Regions from separate parts of the Homo sapiens genome. Here region 1 is linked to region 2. Evidence: promoter capture Hi-C in 16 types of primary human blood cells and fetal thymus (Javierre and others, 2016). All regions are on one chromosome and are shown on one strand. The core of a region is centred on a gene start or on the middle of the fragment in contact, and the rest is flanking DNA. Distances in the headings are between cores, read along the strand shown.

The links. The method cuts DNA at HindIII sites, captures the fragments that hold promoters and counts their contacts. A CHiCAGO score of 5 or more calls a contact.
Region 1: a fragment that was not itself captured here is called in contact with the fragment with the promoter of CLMP in region 2 in 1 of 17 cell types (M0 macrophages); the score reaches 6.9 in M0 macrophages.

Annotation. Positions count from the first base shown.
Region 1 is chr11:123,474,115-123,481,426 of GRCh38, reverse strand. GRAMD1B (GRAM domain containing 1B) reads right to left here. Exons shown (of 20, transcript NM_001387025.1): 2 at 534-611. Among named protein-coding and RNA genes, the nearest start is that of GRAMD1B, 48 kb to the right of the region's middle. RefSeq lists enhancers at 847-966, 1,007-1,056, 2,712-3,006. The HindIII fragment of the contact is 4,574 bases long and covers 1,350-5,923 here.
Region 2 is chr11:123,191,662-123,199,469 of GRCh38, reverse strand. It overlaps CLMP (CXADR like cell adhesion molecule), which reads left to right and starts at 4,222. Exons shown (of 7, transcript NM_024769.5): 1 at 4,222-4,557. The coding sequence starts at 4,530. The HindIII fragment of the contact is 6,233 bases long and covers 87-6,319 here.

The sequences.
Region 1 (7,312 bases), core at 2,387-4,886, 280 kb before region 2:
GCTGGAGTGCAGTAGCGCGATCTTGGCTCACTGCAACCTCTGCCTCCCAGGTTCAAGCGATTCTCCTGCCTCAGCCTCGGAGTAGCTGGAATTAGAGGCACATGCCACCATGTCTGGCTAATTTTTGTAGTTTCAGTAGAGATGAGGCTTTACCGTGTTGACCAGGCTAGTCTCGAACTCCAGATCTCAAGTGATCCGCCCGCCTCGACCTCCCAAAGTAATGAGATTGCCGGTGTGAGCCACCAAGCCCTGCTCAGTATGAAGTCTTTTCAACCTATTTGGTTTGCCACACGTTGACTTCTTTTGCTGAACACAAAAAGCCTCTGGAACCAGCCCCTTTGTGTTGCTCCTTCTCCTTTATGGGGTGAAAGTTTTGTCTTTCTAATCAGTCAAGCACAGAGGTCTCAGGCGCTCCCATTCCTCTTCAGTTTTCCACATTTTTTTGCACAGAGCAGAGGCACAATCTTCCTCAAACATTCCACCCCACCCCCTCTATTCTTTGCCCCCATCTCGCCCTCGGAGTTGGACCTTACCTTTCTTCCCGCGCTCGAGGACTCAGGAACCTGCTAGAATCATCATCGTGGCTGCTCTGCTGACTGCTCTGTTGGCTGCTGAGGAAAGACATAGGATATCAACCGTTAACTTCAGCTTCTTTCTCAACCCTGGGGGAGGTCACTTAGACTTCAACTAGACAAAGACATGGGGTTACAAAATTTTAAAGATACAAGTTCCCCCAAGTAAGTCTAGCATAGAGAATGCACAGTTAGACCATATGAGAAATGACACAAGGCTGATAAAATCCCCAGCCATCACACCTGCAGACTGTCTGTTGCCAGCCAAAACAGAAGAGGCCCATCTCGCCCTGCTACCACACTCTTCCCTGGCTATATAAACCTCAAAGAGCAAATGCCTCCAGCATTCTCTCTACCCACTCCTCTTCCTCTCTCTGATGGGATTATAATCCCATTCTCCTCAGCCCACCGGAGACTCTCAAGCCACTGACATGGACTGGGTGGGGTGTTGTGGGGAGGGTGTGAGATGTGTGGGAGGAGGGAGATTCCGGTAAGACAGAAGACTAGATGGGGCCAGGGGTCACCTAGTCTGCTTCTCCAGTAAGGCAAAAGGCTGGATGGGGTCTGGGGTCACTTAGTCTGCTACTCTGCCTCCAGGGGAGGCTGAGGCGGATGAGAAATAGAAGAAGGAATAAAGGGTGGACTCTCCACACCTTAAGGCACTGTAAGTGAGATAATTACACAGCTTTAGTTCAGGCAGAGTTCTTTTGGGAGGTCATATCTTATAATAATACGGGAAAGAATGGCCTTTCCTCTTACTCCAGAGAAAGAAAAGCTTATCAGACACTTCATGACACTAACTGCTGGCATAGCTGATGAACAAATCATTTTTATTAATTATTATTAAATACTCCAGCCATCTGATCAGGAGTCCACAAACTAGAAACTCTAGGCTCAATCTAGAGCCACGTGTTTTTGCTCAGCCCCGTGAGCTAAGGGTGGTTTTTGTACTTTTTAGTGGTTGGAAGAAAAAAAATCCAAAAAAGAATATTTCATGACAGGTGAAAATGATGTGAAATTTAAATTTAGTGTCCACAAATGAAGTTTTACTGGAACACAGCTAAGCCTACATTTACATATTATCTTTGGCTATTTTCCTGCTACCATGTCAGAGCTGAGTGGTTAAGGCAGAGTTGAGTAACTAAGACAGAGTTGTGGGCACCATAGGCCCACAAAGCCCACAATGCTCACCATCTGGCCCTTTACAGAGAAAGTTGGCCAACCCCTGTTTTACATAGGTTCTATTAATAATAAATCCTTATTACCAGGAAGTTGGCCAACCCCTGCTTCACATAGGTTCTATTAATAATAAATCCCTATTACCATAAATGTCACTATAACCAAGGCTACCACATAACCAACATTTTCTCCTTGTTCTGGTGGATCGCCTGCTGCACTAAGATGCATTGGTCTCTATAGAGTATATTCCTTAGCCTAGATGCCCAGTAGAATGCACACTGGACAATCTTGCCGAGCAAGTGCTTGCTCCAGTGTCTGTACACTCTCAGCCAAAGCACATGAGTTCTGTGGTCACAGTTACCACATGCTCTTATGTTCCGTTCTTCCAGCAAGAAGTAAATGACCTGAAAGGCAATTAACATCCAATTTTCAAACACAGACACAAGAAACCATACACGTTACCACACACACCAGAAACCGGAACAGCGCCATACACAAAGCCTCCGGCTGCTCGGCAGAACTCACTGTGTACGGAATCCCTTTCTCCTTCCCTTCCATGCAGCACGTTTTTACAGCTCGTTCACTATGCAGTGGCTGCTCATCATTTTCACTTTGCCAGCTCGGATGGATTTGCCTATTACCAACTCCACATAACCAAATTTCACTATAATGTCGTTAACTCATGAGATGTCTTACTTGGAACTGGCCTGTTATATGAATCAAGCATCCCCTTATATACAACCTGGGACAAGTGTTACTCCACAGTAGGCAGCACACAGATGACTGTAACTCAAATTCCAAAGCCCACACAGCTCCAGAAGCAGGGTCTACACTGTGGGAGAACACACCATTTACAACAGTCAACAGGGCTCAACCAAGCCAACCACAATCAGCATTGCAGCCTCTTCAAAGCAGGGGTCAAACTTGACCCCGCTGAGCCAGGATGGGCTGGTTCTTCCTAGTCCCCCTATCCTCCCCCGGCAATCAAAATTTTAAACTAATAAAGGGGGCTCCCAGAACTCAAGGCCATCTACCAGGATTTCAGAAAAATAATTCTAAGCTGATATTTGCAAGTTTACCCACTAGATGGCACTGTAGACTTCCAAACCAGAACTACAAGGAAAACCAATAAGGAGCCTCAGGAACCGGAACCAGGAACTGCCTCCTTTCTGGCGCCCCTCTCTGGCCTGCCTTCCCATGGCTTAGAAAACAGTTCAGATGGCAGAGAAGGCAGCAATGGGTCATGTTCAAACTGTGTATTGGTTTCAAATAAATATCAAACTACATGCATCCAACAAGTATTCACATCACGCTATGTGTACACGAAGCATCATCAAGACAATGGTTAAGAGTCTACAGTATGGAACCAGGCGGGTTGGCTCATGCCTGTAATCCCAGCACTTTGGGAGGCTGAGACCGGAGGATCGCTCAAACCCAGGAGTTCCTGATCAGCCTGGGCAACCTGGTGAGACCCCATCTCTATAAAAAAAAAATTAGCCAGGCATGATGGTGTACACCTGGAGTCCCAGCTACTCGGAAGACTGTGGTGGGAGGAAGGAAGGACAAAGAAAGAAAAAGAGAAGAGGCTGGGTGTGGTGGTTCACGCCTGTAATCCCAGAACTTTGGGAGGCGAGGCGGGTGGATCACCTGAGATCAGGAGTTTGAGATGAGACTGGCCAACATGGTGAAACCTCATCTCTACTAAAAAAAATAAAAAATAACAAATAAAAAAAATTAGCCAGTCTTGGTGGCAAGCGCCTGTAATCCCAGCTACTTGGGAGACTGAGGTCAGGAGAATCACTTGAACCAGGGAGGCGGAGGTTGCAGTGAGCGAGATCGCGCCACTACACTCCAGCCTGGGCGACAGAGTGAGACTCCATCTGAAAAACAAAAAAAGAGAAGAAAAGGGAAGGAAAAGGGAAAGGGAAAAGGAAAGGGAAGGGAAGAGAAAGGGAAAGGAAAGGAAGGGAGAAGGAAGGGAAAGGAAGGGAGAAGGAGAAGGAAGGGAGAGAGAAGGGAAAGGGGAAGGGAGGGAAGGGAGGGGAGGGGAGAGAGAGGGAAAGGAAGGGAGACGGGAGGGAGGGGAAAGGGAGGCCACTAACAGATAAAACTGTCTTTTGGAAACCCTGAAAAAGAAACTCTAAACTAGGATTTGGAATGACTTTGCCTTGGCACCGATGACTGAAAGATGCCTTAACACTGCAAAGAAGGGAATTGTATAAGCAACTGTTTGCCATTCGCTCAAGACAGCTAGTCCAGTGACAATTCCATTTACCACTTACCGTTTCCATTTTCATTTCCATTTTCCATTTACCACTCTCAAGTACCCAGCACTGTGCTAGGGGAGGGGAGGGGAGGAGAGGGGAGGGAAGGGAGAATGAAAGGGAGGGGAGGGAGAGGGGAGGGGGAAGGGAAGGAAGGGGGAGAAGGGGAGAGGATGGGAGGGGGAGAGGAGGGGGAGGGGGGAGGGGAGGCAAGGGAGAGGGAAAGAAAGAGAAAAAGAAAGAAAGAAGGAGGAAAGAAAGAAAGAGAAAGAAATGTGAAGTATGAAAAAGAGCATCTGCCACATTTTAACTGCTATGTAAATGCCAGGTGCCATTATCCTATATGCAAGGCATCATTTTATGGGTTATAGGAAAAGAAAGACGTGAATCAAACAAGGATCCTGCTCTCAAAGTGCTTAGAATCAGGAAAGTAAGATTCAATATAAATAACTATATTTAAAAGCAGAAAAATGATAACTCTCAATACTATGTATTAAGTGCTATGGGAACACAGAATGCAGAAATGTCATGTCCTTCTGGGACCAGTAAGACAATTCTGTCTTAACAACAAGATTTTTGTGCTGCCACTTAAAACTGGATAGACTCAAGACATGCAGAAATGAGAAGAAAAGGCATTCTAGTTCAATTCCGTTTACCACTCTCATGTACCCAGCACTGTGCTAGGAGACAGTACTGTAAAGATGATCAGGACAAGGTCTCTCCAGCAAAGAGCTCCCAGTCTAAGACATACAAATATTCACCGTGGACTGTGATGCAACAACAGCAGAAAAATGAACAAGGTGTAGCTGGTGGACACCTCTGTTGGAAAGCTCCAGGGAACACATCAGAGAGGTGAACATCGAGCTGGAGGGACTCTAGATAAATCCATGGTGGCAACAGGCATAGGGTATATACAGGATCTTTCCTCCTCCAGTACCCTCGGCAGAGGCCTGGCCCTATTTCCTCCCATTATTTGAGCTTGTTTTTCAACAGTCTTAAAGAAGTTAAATGGGCCGGGTGCGGTGGCTCACGCCTGTAATCCCAGCACTTTAGGAAGCCGAGGCGGGTAGATCACCTGAAGTAAGGAGTTCGAGACCAGCCTGGCCAACATGGTGAAACCCTGTCTCTACTAAAAATACAAAAATTAGCCAGGTGTGATGGTGCACGCCTATAATCCCAGCTACTCGGGAAGTTGAGGCAGGAGAATCACTTGAACCTGGGAGGTGGAGGTTGCAGTGAGCCAAGATCGTGCCACTGCCCTCCAGCCTAGATAACAGAGACTCCGTCTCAAAAAAAAAAAAAAGAAGTTAAATGGATGAATTGCTGCCAACCACTCCTCCACTCAATCCCATGAAATAATATTGTTGAGCAGAATTTCCAGAGATTCAGACACTGCCTCACCCTCTCACACACACCCTTTCAATTCTTCTCTTATATGAGCCTTTTTCAATGATATAGGCCACCTGGACCCCAGGCAACTCACGCTGCTCCCTAAATAAACCTACCAGTCTTCGGAGACCATGAAAAGAGCAACCTCCAGGCCAAGGTGTTTATAAAGGAGTGCAGCATGCTACAAGGTCAAAAAGCACACCTCCCTCCACTCCAGATTAGTCAAGGCCTTAGTGGGAGAAGACATCCAGTCTGCGTCCACTCTGGGATTCAGGAGGTTGAAAAGAACTTGGAGAAAGTCCAGCAGAGGGCACTAACAGATGAAACTGTCTGTTGGAAACCCTGAAAAAGAAACTCTAAACTAGGATTTGGAATGTCCTTGCCTGGGCACCGGATGACTGAAAGATGGCTTAACACTGCAAGGAAGGGAATTTGTATAAGCAACTGCTTGCCATTCGCTCAAGACAGCTAGATATGGAACTAGGATGACTTTAATCCCTCCTGCTGTACATTCAAGCTTCAGATAAAATTCACTGTATAAATTAAATTTTGGAACACTAGACCATGTTCCTAAATAAGATGGGAAGCTCTTGGTAAAATTCTGGGATATTCCTGAGGGAAACCAGCTGAAGCAGAATCCTGGTTTTGTTTAAGACCAGCGTGCTAGTGCAGGAGCTTATCCTGGAAGGTCACATTAATACCAGCAGCACTGGAAGGACTGGGAAAAATCCACAGGAATCTGAGCCAAAGCACGCTCCACAAGGGAGAAATTCACTAGGCTTTGACCAGGAAGCTCTGCAATGCGGGCTGGGCAAATTCTCATGATTCCAGTGATCTCCCTTCCTCCCTCCCTGTACCCAGGACACGTGCAGAAAGTACAGACTAAACCCACGAACCACCAGGAAGCCGTCCTTCTGCCCTCTGAAAGGCACGGCTTTACTGCTAGAAAGACGGAATATGGCAACCTCTACTGAGTAGGTGCTTCCTAGGGAGAAACAGCTCTTTCTCTTCCAGGCAACCCTACAGGAGTCATAGCTTCCTATGCCCAGAAGGGGTTCTGAGAGATTCAGGTGGTCCCAAGCCGTCATGGGGGCATGTAGGCTGTAATGCAGTATTTCCAGAGCCTGATGGAAACTACATTTACCCACACCCAGGCTGCAGAGACTAATGTACTGCATCTCTTTACTTCTGGCTGCAACTGAGGCAATCTCTCCTGTTAGTATCAATTATCTCATGCTAATTAGAAGCTGCAAAAGGCTCTGAGTGGCAGTTATAGATGTCTTTGTGTCTTTGTTAATAAAAATGGGGAAATATATTATTTTAAGCAGTGATACAGTAGAAATAGCACCAAGGCAGACAAACCTGGGTTTGCCCCCTGCCTTTATTTGTTTTTTGTTTTTCTGGATTGAGGTCCTTGGGACATAGGCTTTGTTTCTTATTAGCCTTCTAACCTTGGCCAAGTCACTTATCCTCCCTTAGCCTATTTCCTGAAAAATGGAGACTTATTGCGATTACTCACAACTTAGTCCTCTATTTATAGAACTGCACAGAGGATTAAGTTGTGAATAATCCAGTCACAGTATCTGAGTTCAGGATATGGCGTCAGAGAGACGCACATTCTAGTCCTGACTCTGCCACTTAGCAGAGGGGGAGATTGAGAAAATTATTTCACTTTTCTAACAGTCAGATGTGGGTAATAATGCATGCCTTAAAAGACTGCAGTTCTGTTGGATTCAAGATTGCCATTACTTTAAAAAAAATTAAAAGTTAAAAAAAAGAAAACATTGCAGTGGGGATTAGAAATGGTAGAAATCATCTGTAGAACATGTTTAGGGCAGTAGCAGGCCCTTGGTGAGTGTATCATAAATGGTGGATATCTATTACACTGAGTATTCAGTTAGTGTGTCA
Region 2 (7,808 bases), core at 2,973-5,472:
TATCCTTCCATTCCTGACAAGTTAACTTACCCAACTTCCCTAGTTTGTCAGCAGTACTATTCAAAAGACAGTGAGGTGTAAAAGCTTTGAATCTCCTGACTTTATATCCTGCTTCAATCATTTACTAACCATGGGATGATATGCAATTTATTTAATCTTGCTAAACCTTAACCTTAGTTTCTTCATTGTGGTATGATATTGTGATACCTGTTAATCATGCTTATAATCTCTGGAATATACCAGGAGGTAGATAAATGGTCGGTATCAATCTTGGCATATGTAACAATGTATTCAGTCATTTATACTCAGATTCGGTGCCTCTTTTCTCTTCCACTCTTTTCACCCACATTGATTGTTATGTACTTAACCCTGTCAAATCTTTCTTCCCAATGTCTTCTACACTGTTTCACTACCCTCATCTTATCTGCCTATTTAATACAATAGGTCCTAAACAGTCCCTGTCCTTCAGGTTTCTTCTCCAGTGCGTCATACACTCCCGTTGATAGCTCTAGAATTCCTGTAAAGGAGAGGTTTAGGGTGGTACTCTTTGGCTCCCCAGAAATTGGGAAGGACAAGGGAAGTGTCTTGAATCTGCATATGTATATCACTCTACAAAATATTGAGACAAAGGTAGCTTGACAGATATGAAAGGGTCGCAAAAGTTCTCCACCCTGGCCAACTGTTGTAGTCACCTCTGGGCAGAAGCTGCCAATTTCCACTTCCTAAAATAAGGCTCTCATCAAGGTGATTTTTCTTAAATTTGTTTCAAAGAGCCTGGAAGAACACTGCAGAACGAGTTCTAGAATCCTTTTCCTCACATTTGGAACTTGTCACAGTTTTGCCCCCCAGGGCATTTTGCTTCAACAACAATTTTTATTTCAAGCATTTCATTTCATTCAAGGCCCCTCAATATGCCAAAGCTATTCCTAACTCCATGTCTTTGTCCAGGAATGCCCCCACTCATGGCTCTCCCCAGCTCATCTCTTCTAATGACATTCTGTTCATCCCCCAAGGGCTGGTTCCATCATTGCTCTCCTCCGCAATTACCCCAGCCTAAGGTGCTCTTTCCTTTCTTGGAATTCCCACTGTTTTTTATTGTCAGGATAATTTACTGTGGCATTTAACTATCTAACTTTCTTGTATTGTTGTTGAAACATTTCCCATGTTGGTGTTTTTTCTCCCTCTGAACTGAGAGGTCCGTCCATTCAGGGTAAGGACTATCTCGTAATCTTGGGATCCTCCGAGGCACCCAGCCCAGAGTGGGGCCCAGCACTGGTAGGGATGGGATGTGAGTTACAAACCATCGCAGAAGCACTCTCTCTCTGCTCTTCCTGCCCAGAGACCCATGCCAATAGAAAAGAGGTTTCAGATTTAGAGACAGACACCTTCAGGGACCCAAAGATCCTCTTCCAAAAAATATGTGCCATATTGGCTACAAGACTTGGGGCTGGGAAAATTGAGTGCTTGTGACCCAATCTCAGTCTAATCATTTCCTGTGCTGGTGACTAATGACCTAGAGCCAAAGGCGCCTGTTACCTTCGGCTTGAGCAACTGGGTTTAAACACATATCTGCCTACACCCACACACATCTGTCTTCATGCGCACACCAGCCCTCAAGCAATAAACAGCACTGGCATTACTAAGTTCTTGAGAAAGGCCACCAGCAGCGGTGGGGTGGAGGTGAGGCTTTAAAACTTGTGCAAAAACCCCACCTCTAGAGAGAAATAAAAAGGGGGAATCTGGGTGAAGAATTTTTGTACTATTTTCAACTTTTTTGTAAGCCCAAAATGTCAATTTTTTTTTTAATTATAAAGCAGAAACAACAAAAGAGTTACCTTCTGTATGTAGTTTTTCTGCCACCTTCTCCAGCCTTTAAGAATTACTGTTTTTGGCTGGGGATGGTGGCTCATGCCCGTAATCCCAGCATTTTGGGAGTTCGAGTCAGGTGAACTGCTTGAGCCCAGGAGTTTGAGACCAGCCTGGGCAATACAGCGAAACCCAATCTCTACCAAAAATACAAATATTAGCCGGGCATGATGGTGTGAGCCTGTAGTCTCAGCTACTTGGAAGGATGAGGTGGGAGGATCACTTGCACCCAGGAGGCAGAGGTTGCAGTGAACCTGGGTGACAGAGTGAGGCTCTGTCTCAAAAAAAAAAAAAGAAAAGAAAAAAGACGGTTTTTTCAACATATTCATTTACAAATTATAGTTGTGAATGTATCTATTTCCCCTATTAGACAATTAGTATGAAATGGAAAATAAAGTTACTTCGGAGTCAAAGAGACCTTTTAAACACTTCTCAATATAAAAAATAATATTTTTAAATATTAGAATATTAATATTGGAATAGAAGCATTTTAATTCTATTGTGATCTGGGGCAAGATATTTAGGCCTCTCTAAGTTATAGTTTCCTTGTCTTCCTATTCATGCTAAGGGATGGTGATTTTTTTTTCAGTGACTATCCCTTAGCAGTATAATAAGAATGATATAAAAAGGTCAATAATATGACCCAATAAAAACCACGTAATAATATAATATGATTCTGGGTCCATACTTGGTGTTCATGACATACTCCTCCCAGGTTTTTTTAAATGTCAACTTCCAAGTTCTACTCACTTTGTGTCCTCACACCTAAAAAAGCACCTGGCATAGTGTGGATGCTAACACATCGGTATCGAAGGGGTGAGGGAGTGAGTGGAGAAATGCTGCAATTCTAAAGCAATGCTCCAGCTGATCCGCGAGCCCTAGGAACAGCCCCAGCTTTTGCAAGTCCTCTGAGTGACCTTGTGAAACTTCCATAACCTCTCCAGGCCTTTGCTTTCCTAGTCTGCGAAATGGGACGGGTTTTCATTACACATTTGCATTTCATTGCAAATGTGTGACTCGGCAGCCCACCGGCCCCGGCGGGGTTCATCTTTCTTCTCAAGAGCGCTGGCCCCGGCTTCCAACCTGGGCTCTGGCGAGGCCGAAGGTGAGCGATTGCGTCATCATGCCTCTGGGCAGCTGAGGGAGAAGCCCTCCAGGGACATTCAGAGACTGGGACCAGAGTTTCTGAGAGGCCCTGGGCACAAGGTCAGGGCAGGAGGTCCAGGCAGCTGAGGTCTGAGCGCCACCCTCACTGCCCTTTCTTAGTCTCGCTGCCTCCCGCTGCCGCTGAGCAGCAGGGTAGTGAAGGGCAGACTCCCAGGGGCCGACCCTGGGGCGGGGCTGCTCGGCTCCGCGGAACCCACCGTCCGCCCCCGTCCGGCCGCCAGCCTCCTGCCCTCCGCGAGCCTCCTGGGCCGGGTTCCCGGAGCCCGGGCGCGCAGGCCCTGGCACCAGGGGGATTCTGCTCCCTCTGCCTTATGTTCTTTCTGAAAGGGGGTGGTGCACATTTTGGCCAGGGCCACGTGCAGAGCACTTTGCTGCAAAGCATCTCGATAGACCTCTTTCCACGGGGCTGTGGGTCCCCTTCCCCTGGGTGCTGGCTGGCTTAGCTCTGCTCGGGACCTGAGGGAGCGCTGCTGCAAATACCGACAGTAGAAAGCGAGCGAACGCGAAAGGCCCCAGGAAAGCCAGGCCAAGGGGGGTAGCCGGGTGCCAAAGCAGGCAGTCGGTGGGGAGAGCCCTGGTCGGCCGGCCGCTGGCTGCCTTCGCACCCACTTCCGCGCCCCGCCGTCGGCCTGGTCAGTCTGGTGGCTTTACACTAACAGAACCAGACGGGGAGGGAGAGGAGAGGCGAGAAGAGCGCAGAGGACAGAGGGGAGAGGGCATGAGGAGACGAGGAGGGAGAGGCAAGAATGCGAACAAGGAGACCTAGAGAGGAAGAGATGGAAGAGAGAAACGCCAGATTTGTGAGAGACGTGGAAGCAGAGAGAAACGAGAGTAAAAAAGAAGCGAGAGAGAAGTGGAGAGAAGGACCAAGTGAGAGCAGAGCTCTAGGAACGGACAAGGCCTCGTCCATGGGCTCTCAGCCGAGGTGTCACCAATGCCTCCTGCAAAGAATCAATCCTACGCCCGGCGCCTCTCAACCCACCCGCCTCTGCACGGCCCCAGGTCTCCCCCGGCCCTCCCTGCCCGGCCAGCTCACGCTTCTCCCCGACCGGCCCCCACCGCAAACCCCAAACGCCGCGCGGGAGGGAGGGAGGGAAGGAGGGAACAGCGAGAGAGAGAGGGAGGGGCTGCGGTAGGAGGCAACCATGTGGTTCCAGCTGAATTTTTTTTTTCCCTCTCTCTTTCTTCACTCCTTTTTCTTTCCAAACAGGGAAAAGTGTTCCACGAAGCGGTAGCGCCTTTTCGCCTCGCGTTTTCCTCCCTGACCCTGGTCCCGGCTCCCGTCCGGGCGCCAGCTGGTGGGGCGAGCGCCGGGAGCCCATCTGCCCCCAGGGGCACGGGGCGCGGGGCCGGCTCCCGCCCGGCACATGGCTGCAGCCACCTCGCGCGCACCCCGAGGCGCCGCGCCCAGCTCGCCCGAGGTCCGTCGGAGGCGCCCGGCCGCCCCGGAGCCAAGCAGCAGCTGAGCGGGGAAGCGCCCGCGTCCGGGGATCGGGATGTCCCTCCTCCTTCTCCTCTTGCTAGGTGAGTGCCTCTGGGAGGGCGGGAGTTTGGATGGCCGTGGGCAAACGCAGCCCTGCGTCCGGGAAAGACGCCGGTTCTGACCGGGTGTCCCTGCAGCCCCTGGAGTCAGCCGGCTTTTCAGTCCCTGCCTCCTGGCCACGGAGGAGCACATCTGGCAACCGAGGGCCGCCCAGTCGGCCATCGAGATTGTCTCGCACATCTGGGCCCTTGAACAGGCTTGGGGAACCGTTTGATGTGCAGGGTCCTCTTTAGGGCGGTGTTTAGTTTCTGGTGTATCTGGGAAAAGTGGAGAATTGGTGGAGGGAAGGTTTATCCAGGAATTTTTGTGCCAGGTTCCTGAGGGTGGGGGTTTTTTGTTGTTGTTTCAAACAGGCGCCTCCGAGGCTCAGATTAGAAACAGATGTGTTAAAGGGTGAGCAGAGTGGGGGATAGGCAGGGTTGGAGAGGAAAGGGGAGAGGGAAAAAGGGCAGGGCCCAAGGAGCACCAGGAAGATGCAAATGCCCCAAGTCACACAGGGAAGGAAGGAAAAGGGGAAAGGGGAAGGGTTGGGAAGGAGAGAGAAAAAGAGGAGAACAGGAATGTAAAACAGAAGAGCAAGGCTGGGGGAGTCCGAGCACAGAGAGTGAAGAAGACTTGGAAAAAACGCAGCAGAGGAACCAGAACAGAGGGAAATAGAGCAAGCACCACTTTTTCCTGAAACAGGCTCCAGAGCAAAGGGAAGAGTCCTCCTGAGCGTCCCTTCCTGGGGTCCCCCAGGCAGGACTCTTGGGGCCTCAGAGGCCCTGAGGCAGAGGCAGGTTTGCAGGAGAGGACATCAGGGATGTGGGTGGTAGGAGCCCACCGGAGTGACTGGAAATGTCTGAGGAGCCAGGGCAGGAAAGGCAGTCAGGGAGAGCCAAGGGCACGTCACTATGCACCCTGAAGCATGGGATCCACTGCAGACAGGCCCCACAGTTAGCTGGAGATCAGAAAATCAAAGAGCCAGCCAGTGGTCAAGAGTGAGCACTACCCTGAACACCAGGCCACGGGAGAGCTGGTCCTGGTTTTGAACTGACTAGCTGGGTGGCCTCAGACAACTTACTCCTTATCCAGGGCTTCCACGTCTTTAGCTCTGGAAAGAGAATACTAGATGGTTCCTAAGTCCCTTCTAGCCTACAACACCAGAGGTTTGAAGGAGGCTGGTGTCTAGAAGAACCACCAAATCCTGAAATACGTGGTTAGAGTTCTCTGTCTTTTTTGAAACTTTACAAACCAATTATACTGTATGCATACCCATCTTGGCCAGCCTCAGGCTGATAATCACTTAAGTTAGAGAAATGAAAGAGGTGGGCTAAGCCAAACTATTGCTCAAGTAAGGCAGGTGGGGAGGGGTTATTTTCTAAACTCTTTTAGACTTAACCAAATACTGCAATACTGTTCCTGTGCACATCTGGCGCAGCTGGATGGCACCTTGATTCCCTTTACTGGACTCTACCACTAGGTTACCAATCACCAGATATTTAGTAGAATGAAACTTCAGGGCTCTCTTATTAAAAACAGCTAATAGTCCTTGTTATATGAACACTTTATATGTACTATCTTGGTAATTCGTTTGTTCTTCACAACAAGCCTATTGGCTGCCCAGCCATCCTTGTTGGCTACCCTCATTTTACAGATGAAGAAACCAAGCTGTAAAAAGGCCAGGTAACTTGCTCAAGGCCACACACTCATAATTAGGGGAGACGGAATTTGAGCGCAGGCTGCCTGCTTCCAGAGAAAGCTTGCTAAAGCGCATTGCTTTACAGCCTCCTGTGGCTGCAGAGATTCTCAAAGCGCTTACCCTCTGCCACACCTGGCTGGCTCTTCGATCTCACCATCCTCTTCATGGAATGTAAGATGTCAGCGTGACCTATAGGAGAGAGGTCTGGGAAAGGGAAAAAAAATTTGCACTTTTTGAGCACCTGTCCTTATTTAAGAAATGGTTTGGAGCCATGGAATGCTCGGACACTGTTCAGCAAAGGCAGAAAGAAAACACAGCAAGTTGTCTGAATCCTGAAATCATCATACTGGTCCTTTAAAGGGGCAGTTCCAGGGCTGCTTCTGATCCTGGCTGGCATGGTTTTTGGCTTCTCTTTTTCTAAAGATTGCACAGTATCAAACAGGGGCTGGGAGGGTGGAGAGTGTTCATCGTCTGAACTGTGGGACAGTTGACTCCATGTTTCCTGGACCTGCCAATGAGTGAGGTCAAATAACCCACCTCTCTGATGTGAATGAATAAGAAGTGCTCTGAGCCCCATGGAGAAGAGAGAAGGAGCTCCAGCTCAGCCCCTCTTCTGACCCACTATCCTGCCTCACTCCCGTAACGTTCCGGCCCTCATTGTGCCACCTTAACTTCTCTCCTGGATGACTATAGTAGCTGCCACGTTCCTGTCCTGCCTGTCCTCTCTCCTCCATCCTGCACACTGCTACCCGAGTAACCCTGTGAGGCCGCTGGTAGAATGCACGAAGCTGGAACTTAAGAGTCTGGCAACCTCTCTGGTTCTTATTCTGACTCCCTTGTCTGTACAATGGGCATAGGGGTAGGGGAATGTTCAATTCAAAATTTCTATAATTCTATGGTTTTTCTCCCTTCTTCCAAAAACCTTTAGTAGTCTCATTGCTTTTAGTGTTGAGTATAAACACTTCATTCTGACATCAAAGACTTTACATAATGTCATTCACAGCTCTTCCTCTACTCACCCCCAGATACTCGGTAGGGAACCTGAATTACTTCATGCGCCCAAAACATGTCCCATGCTTCTTTCTAATTCTATGCTTTTGTTTATGATAATCCCCCCACCAAAACTGCCTCCTTATTTCCTGCCACTGCAGATCAAAATCATGTTCATTCCCCAAGTCTCACCTCAAATGCCACTTCCTCCATACACCTGTCCATGGTTTCACCAGCTGAATATACTTTTTTTCTTTTGAGTAGTCTATTTGACCTTTGAATCCCAATAGCCTTCCTCTTATGCTACTTTGTATTATGGTGTTCCAAATGCTTATCTAACACCCCATTAGAATGGAAGCTCCATGAAGGCAGGGACAGTGTCTCATTCACCTGTGAACCATGTTCAGTACCTTGCATAAACACTTGTGAACTATTTGTTAAGAGATAATTGGATTTTTGAAGTATTTGAAATCTTTAAGGTCAAGAGAGGTGAAAAATTTGGAAGATCACTAACCTTTGACTGCGGGATAACCCAATAGTGAGGAGCCCAGTTTTAATTCA